2 separate regions of the Homo sapiens genome follow, and region 1 is linked to region 2. The links are contacts of gene promoters, found by promoter capture Hi-C in blood cells and fetal thymus (Javierre and others, 2016). All regions are on one chromosome and are shown on one strand. Each heading gives the region's core, a stretch centred on a gene start or on the middle of the fragment in contact. The rest is flanking DNA. Distances are from core to core; before and after follow the strand shown.

Evidence for each region. Contacts are between HindIII fragments. The CHiCAGO score rates a contact against its expected background, and 5 or more counts as called.
Region 1: a contact is called between a fragment that was not itself captured here and the fragment with the promoter of SLC6A12 in region 2, in 2 of 17 cell types (erythroblasts and M1 macrophages). The highest score is 6.4, in erythroblasts.

Annotation. Positions count from the first base shown.
Region 1 is chr12:78,930-82,289 of GRCh38, reverse strand. All of the region lies in intron 1 of IQSEC3 (IQ motif and Sec7 domain ArfGEF 3), which reads right to left. Among named protein-coding and RNA genes, the nearest start is that of IQSEC3, 14 kb to the right of the region's middle. The HindIII fragment of the contact is 152 bases long and covers 1,611-1,762 here.
Region 2 is chr12:212,362-216,103 of GRCh38, reverse strand. It overlaps SLC6A12 (solute carrier family 6 member 12), which reads left to right and starts at 1,947. Exons shown (of 16, transcript NM_001122848.3): 1 at 1,947-2,182. RefSeq lists enhancers at 2,066-2,837, 3,549-3,598, 3,610-3,742. The HindIII fragment of the contact is 26,496 bases long and covers 1-3,742 here.

The DNA.
Region 1 (3,360 bases), core at 437-2,936, 130 kb after region 2:
TATAAAGCAAGCCCCAGAAATATCATTTCACCCACAATGTATCCCTCTAATAGGTAAGAACTTTAAAAAGATATGAGTACCATAATCATACCTAACTAAATTAACAATTTTCTAACATCACCTAATACTTCATCTACGTTCAAATTCCCCGACTGTCTTAAAAATGTCTAGTTCCAATGGCTTTGTCTAAATCAAGCCGGATCAAAGGTCCACATGTTCTATTTGGTTGATTTGTCTCTAAAGTCTCTCCTCCCTTCTCTCTCAAACCCACTAATCAAGCCTCCAAATCCACTCCCAAGACTATGCTTTTCAAGGTCACCAATTACCTGAATGTTGCTAAAGCTAATGGACAGTTCTCAGTCTGCATCCTCCACGTTTCAGCAGCCTTTGAAACGCTCTTTGCCAGAACACTAGGTGCTTCTCCTGGCTGTTCTCCTCCCTCTGGGTGCTCCTTCTCAGCTCCCATGCCCACCTTTTAGTGTTGTGTGCATTGCAAATCTGCCCTAGGCCTCTTTCATCTTCTGTTCTCACTCCTTGGTGGCGTGGCCCAGTCTCAAGGCTTTAAAAGCATCCCAAAGTTATACCTCCAGCCCATTCCAAATGCCTACTGCACATCTCCTCTCAAACATCTAAGAGCTGTCTCAAACGCCATCCGTCAAATGCTCAAACCTCCTCATCCCCCATGGACTTCTCCATCCCATCCTTCTAATAACTTTGGCCCCAAACCTTGAGCTCATCCTCAACTCCTCTTTGTCTCACATCCCACACTGATCCCTCAGGAAGTACTGTTGTCTTGGCTGCAGATCATACTTTCATTGCTACTACCCTGGTCCAAGCTACTAGCATCTCTTACCTGGGCTGTGTAACAACCTTCTACCTGAACTCCCTGCTTCTGCCTTTCTTCCCTCTTCAGTCTATTCTCAAACCAGCATCCAAAGTTCCTTTTAAGCACCCTCTGCTCAAAGTCATCCACTGGTTCCTAGTTTTTCTGAAGGTAAAAGCCAAACACTTCCTAACGGACTCCAATGCCCTCAACAACAAGAAACAGGGGCATTTCTGGCAGGAAAATTCTTCACTGTGTGGTCTGTCCCACACACTGCAGGATGTTTGACATGGCCCTTACCCACTGCATGCCACAGAACAACAACCTTCCTCATCCAAGCCCCATCAGCATTTGTGACAACTAAAATGTGCCCACACATTCCAAATGCTCCCTGGTGGACCTGGAAATCCCAGTTGAGAATCTCTTACAAGATCTGCTACGCGCCTGCACCCTCCTACCCTCCCATGCCCCAACAATCTCTCTGACTTGGCCTCAGGCGCCTCTCCCTGTGCTCTCGGCCCTTGTCTTACTTGAACAACCTGGCAGGGTCCCACCCTTGGCCTCTATGCTAGCTGTTTGTCCTGCCAGGAATGCCCGTCCCCAGACAGCCACAGAACTCCCTCCCTCCCCTCCTCCAGGACTTTGCTCAGGTGCTGTCTCCCCAGGGCACCCAGTTTGAAAGTGCAGATTCCTTTATTCCGGGTCTCTTCTCTGCTTTTTCTCCAGGGCTCTTATCCCATCAGATGCACTATAAGTTTTCATTAGTGATCTTGTTTGTCTGTAAGCTTCATAAAGGAATTTGGGAGTTTTTTTGTTCACTGCTATACCCCAGGGCCTAGAATAGTAACTGGCACACAGCAGATAATAAATATTTGTTAAGTGAAAGGAAGAATACAGATGCCAGGAAAATATATACTTACAGAAAGAAGAAAACAAGCTTTTCTAAGCCACAAGAATAAAGAACTAATTTTGTTCTTAGCAAGGACTGGTGTGTGCTCAGCCTGGGGTGAAAAGTAAGGAGTGAGGCTATAAGAACATCTATTTATTTATCAGATCGGTTCAGGAAGGCTTCCTGAAACTGCTGGGGTTGTAGGACTCACCTTCAGCTGGTTTAGAGCCAGATGCTAACACCCTGATGGCTCCCCCAAACTTGATAACTGCTGACAACAAAGGGAGCCCCGGGGAGCAAAAGTGAACCAAGCTGGAGTTTTCAGACGGAGAAGCACTTGCCGAATCGTATTTCTGCTGCAACTGACCCATGTCTGCAGGAGGCTGCAGCAGCACGTCAGCCAGAGAGGCAAGTTCAAATGCAGCTGCTCAATCATACCTGCTTCCTCCCCTCTCTGGCCCTCAGAAAGCCCACCTTAAATAATTACTTGCCTTCCAAAACTCTCAGCAGACAGCAGAAAGGACCTAGCTTCACAGCCATACAGTGGAATATTTTGCGGCTATTAAAAAAGAACGCGGCAGCTCTTTTTATATTTAATAAGGAAAGATCACTAAGATACATTATTAGGGAACAAAACTCAAGGTGCAGAACAGCATATAGGATACTAGTATCTCTGTAAAAAGAAATAAACATTTTGCTTAAATGTACATATAGCTGGAAAGACGTGAGAAATAATAGTGGTTGCTGGAAGGTGTGGGGGCGGGCAGGAATTCGAGTGGTTAGGAAACAAGGATGGGGGCGATGCTTTTCACTGTAAACTCTTTTCTTTTGAATCTTGTACTAGGTCAATGTATTGTCTATTTGAAAAGAGTAAATCAAGCTACTCTGGAGGCTGAATTGGGAAGATTGCTTGAGGCCAGGAGTTCGAGACCAGCCTGGGCAACATAGGGAGGCCTCCGTCTCTACAAAAACAAAGAAAATTAGTCAGGTGTCGTGATGCATGCCTGTAGTCCTAGCTACCTGGGAGGCTGAGGTGGGAGGATCACTTGAGCGCAGGAGTTCGAGGCTGCAGAGAGCAATGATTGTGCCACTGTACTCCAGCCTGGGTGACAGAGTCACCATCTCTTAAAGAAAGGAAAAGGTGAATTACATTAAAAGCAAATTACATTAGCAATTTTGTGTGTATGTTAAAAGCCACCTGTACAAGTACAGGTGGCCAGAAGCCAGAGTCCTTCAAGTGAAAGAGCCCTGAGGCTTTAGCTGACCTCATGTGTGATAGGTCCCATCTGTGGCTGGGGCTGAGAAAGCCAGTGGGTCCCTAGCCACCATCCAAAGCTAGGCGGGGGGTGAGGGAGGGCCTCCCTGTGCCCAAAGCTGGTCTGGCCACAGCCCCTGCGCTGCAGGGCTCACTCCCAGCTCCCTCTGTGTTCTCGGAGAGCAGTAACCCAGGTGAGGCAGGGCCACCCGCAGAACCATGAGGAGCAGGAAGTGCCAGGATCAGGTATGTTCTCCTGAAAGTAGATGGCGGAGGGGTGTCAGTGGACTGGAAGGCAAGGGAAGGGAAGGATGGCTATCTGCCTTCAAATATTTGAAAGGGTGTGAAGTCAAACAGGGAAGGAGTCCTGTTCAGAGCCCCTTAGAAGATGCC
Region 2 (3,742 bases), core at 698-3,197:
AGGAAGGGCTCAACATTAGAGAGTCTCTGGCCTCCAGAAGTTTACTAACTGGTCTGAATACCAAGTGGGTCTTGGAGGCTAGGAAAACTTGAGTGAGGAAGGGCTCAACATTAAGATGGTGGGACTAAGGCCAGAGGCAGTCAGATAAAAACAGGGAGGGACCAGGTAGCTCTTTTGGGGGAAAGTCAAACTGTACCCCCTGGGCCAGGTCAACCAGGCAGCTGTTCTCTGACAAGGTGAAGGAGAGGTGACAGGACTGCTGGGCTGTTGCTGTTCATCCTCACAGAAAGCATGTCACACTGTATGTGCTAAATATAATTTTTGAGGGAACCAACAAGGAAATTCACCATCTTGGCTTGTCTGATCCTCTCCCCTCTTTCTCCTTTTTATGGAGAGGCTGGTGTTTTGTTCTGGAGTAGCTGTAGCTAGGTGATCACATGGACTTTGATGTCCCCTCTGCAATAACTCTGTGGTCAATCCATGGTGGACCTGACATGCAGGGACAGGCCACACCTGAGCACCGGGGTAGCTCAAGTATGGATTCTGGCTGGGCCATGTCCTACTGTGCCACAGCTGACCCCCAGCCCGGCTTCTGCTTTCATAGAGGCAATGGGTCTGAGAGCTGAGACCTGCTCTGCCTTCCTCTTCATGTGGAACCCCACAGGAGAGGCTGAGAGGGGCCCGAGAGACATATCGTGGGGGTGCTTGATGGAAAACTACAGACTGAGAGTCTCACTTCACACCCCACCCCTGCTGGGAAGTTCTAAAATACACAGAGGAAGCACATGTAAAAGGAAATTTCCCTTTCTCCCTGCAACTTCCTCTCCCTTCATACCACCTAGAGCTGAAGAAGCACCTCCTTTGTCTTGAAGGAGGCACCAGCTATTCTGAATGAAGGGCGGTGGGACAGTGCTGTACCCCACACCAGGTGGGCGTGCTCAGGGACAGTGACCAGGACGCTGTTCTGGAGGAGCTCACTGGGCACACGGCATAGGGCACATGTATTCAAAAAATACCCTTCCCCATTGATAGCTGGCAGGCCACTCCAGACAAATTCTAGCTAGGTGCCTGGTGCTATGCAGTGACCAGAGGTGCCTGGGACCAGACACCCCACCATCCCAGCCTCTGCTTCCAGAGGACACACAACAAACACCCACACCTCCCCTTAAGCACCTATGATATCCCTGCACCCTCACAGCAACCCCGCAAAGTAGATATTGTGTTGTTACCTACCTTTGACAGACTGGGAAACCAAGGCTGACCCTTGCCTAGCTGTCGTGACTGATACATGATAGAGGAGGAGAAGAAACTCAGGTCTGTCTGGTCCCAATCCTGGGTCCTCTCTACATTGCTTCTTGAGGTACGCTCTGGGTGCTTTCTCTAGGAAAATCCCAAGGAGAAGGGTTGTGAAGGTCCAGGGCCTTGCCTAGAAGCCACAGAGGGCAGGTACTTGGTGGAAAACTCCAGCGTGTGATTCACCCTCCTCCCTTGCCCTCGTCAGTGAGGTCACCTCCCCTCCCAAGGTTCTCAGTTTATAGCCTGGAGTCTCTGGTAAGAGAGGGCTGTCCCCTGTGCTGCACATACCCGTCTCCTCATCCCTGGGAAGGAGATGGTTCTGGAGGGGGATAGGGGAAAAGGGGGAAGGGGGAAGGGCAAGGAGGAGGAGGAGGGGAGATGAGGTCAGGGTGTGAGTCTCTGAGCCCCTTCCCCTGCCCAAGGGAGCAGCAGCTCAGCCCAGCTCTGGAGGGGCCATCATGGGACTGTGCCCACGGGGAGGGCACCGGTCTGGAGACAGTGGGTTCACAGTGGGAGTGGGATGGGGGTGGGAGCGCTGGGGACAGAGGACTTGACTTCCTGAGGTTGGATGTTGTAATCTCGGTTCACAAACTTTTGGCCTCAGTCCCTCCTGCTGCTCCTGGTATTTCTCTGTCCTTTCACTCCCCAACACACACAGCCCCCGCCCCAACACATACACACACGGCTTCTTTCTGTCTGGGAGTCCCTGGACAAGTCACATGGGATTCTGCGCTGGGAGGAACAGGGTAAGGCGTGAACGTGGAGGGCAGTTTCCCTTTCAGGTCCCGGCTCTCTTGGCTTTCCCATAAGCAGCTGCCTTGGGACTCTCCTGGAGACCTGATGCCCACAGCCAAGCTGACCACAGGAGCCGGTGCTGGGGACTGAGGTGAGCGGGAAGTGGAGGGGCTGGCTCTGTCTTTGCAGTCTCCAACTGCTGCTCAGAGGGGCTGGAGGGATAGAGCCCTGGGAAGCGAGACTCTGTGGAACTGCGTGTCTGCAGCGGGGGGCAGGACCTGCAATAACCTCAGGCCAAAGGGCAAGTCTGATGCCCACGACTCTCAGGACAAGGGGTGCCCCCTAGCTCCGCCCCATCCAGCGTGGGAGCAGCTCAGTGATTAGCCTGTGGAGCAGGAAAGTCCAGCGATGGGCAGCTGGTCACGGCAGTGGGTGAAAGCAGGGGTGGTCATCTGACGAGGGGAGGGGAAGCAGGTGGTGCCCAGCAAGGTGGAAGGAGAAGTGGACAGGAGAAACCTCGGGGCATTCCCGAGGGCCCAGGAACTGCAATAAATGATCACAGGTGAGGGGTTCCTGCCCGCTGCCTGCCGGCTGAGCGTGACGAGCTGGGTGCCAGGCGCCTCCCAGGAGGAAGCTGTCTTGGCTTTGGGCGGTGGATGCTATGGGTGTGCTTGTACCCGAGGGGGGCACTCAGGGGAGTTGCAGGCAGCCACCAGCTGAGACCGGCACTCACGGGGTGTGAAGGACTACAGAGAGAGCCAGGTTTTGGTGCCATGCACACAGGTATGTGTGTGCGAAGGGACGTGACGGGAAATGGCACCAGTGTGTGTATGGGAATGGGTGTTGGTATGTGGGTGTGGACTGAAGCAGGGGCTGGGTGTCCCATCCCCCCGTGTGCAGGGTCTGAGCTATTCCTATGCTGGACTGGGGAGCAAAGGGGACAGAGCTGGGATCCCAGCAGCACATGGGCAGCAGCATTTCTGGTCTCGTCTGCACCTCTGCTAGCCCCAGCTGGGCCTCTGGCGACATGCCCAGCTCCTGAAAACAGACTTAACTTTGGACTTTCTAGTCTCTTGAAGATTTGCTCTCTGGGCAGCACCAAGCCCGGTGTGGAAATTGGTGTGTTTGCTTCTGGAGGGCACTGAAGTATGATGAGGCCCATCCCCCACCCCTCACCCCCCTGTCCCGGCTTAGCAAAGCAGGTGGGCGGCCTTGGAGGAGACTCGAGGGGCTGGAGAGGCGGCCAGCCGAAGCTGGAGGTGGAAGGGCACAGCGGGGGTGGGGTGTGTAGTCCTTTGCCTTTTAAAAGTAGCCCAGAAAGGAGAACTCAGTACAGCTTGTTTTGGTGTCTAACATCCTCTGGGCCATTTCTTCCCTGAGTCTAACTTAAATCCCTCTTGCTGCAGTTTAAGCGTGTTCCCTCTTGAGTTACCACGGCTCGGGGCCAGCTGTCCTTTTCACTTGCTCTTGCTTTCATTCTGCCGTTCTGGATTTTCATTCTGAACCACAAGTTACGCTCCTCCCGATTACTTTTTTATTTTCATTTTTATTTTTAAAAAATCATGTTGCGTCAGTGTCGGTTCACCAGCTCATGTTCTCTTTTTGCACTTCCCCTATTTCTGATGAAACCCAAATCCTGGGCCCAAACTGGATTCTGTGATTCGCTTCCCTGCCCCTGCGCCCCTCCGGCTTTCCCTTCATTTACTCCTTC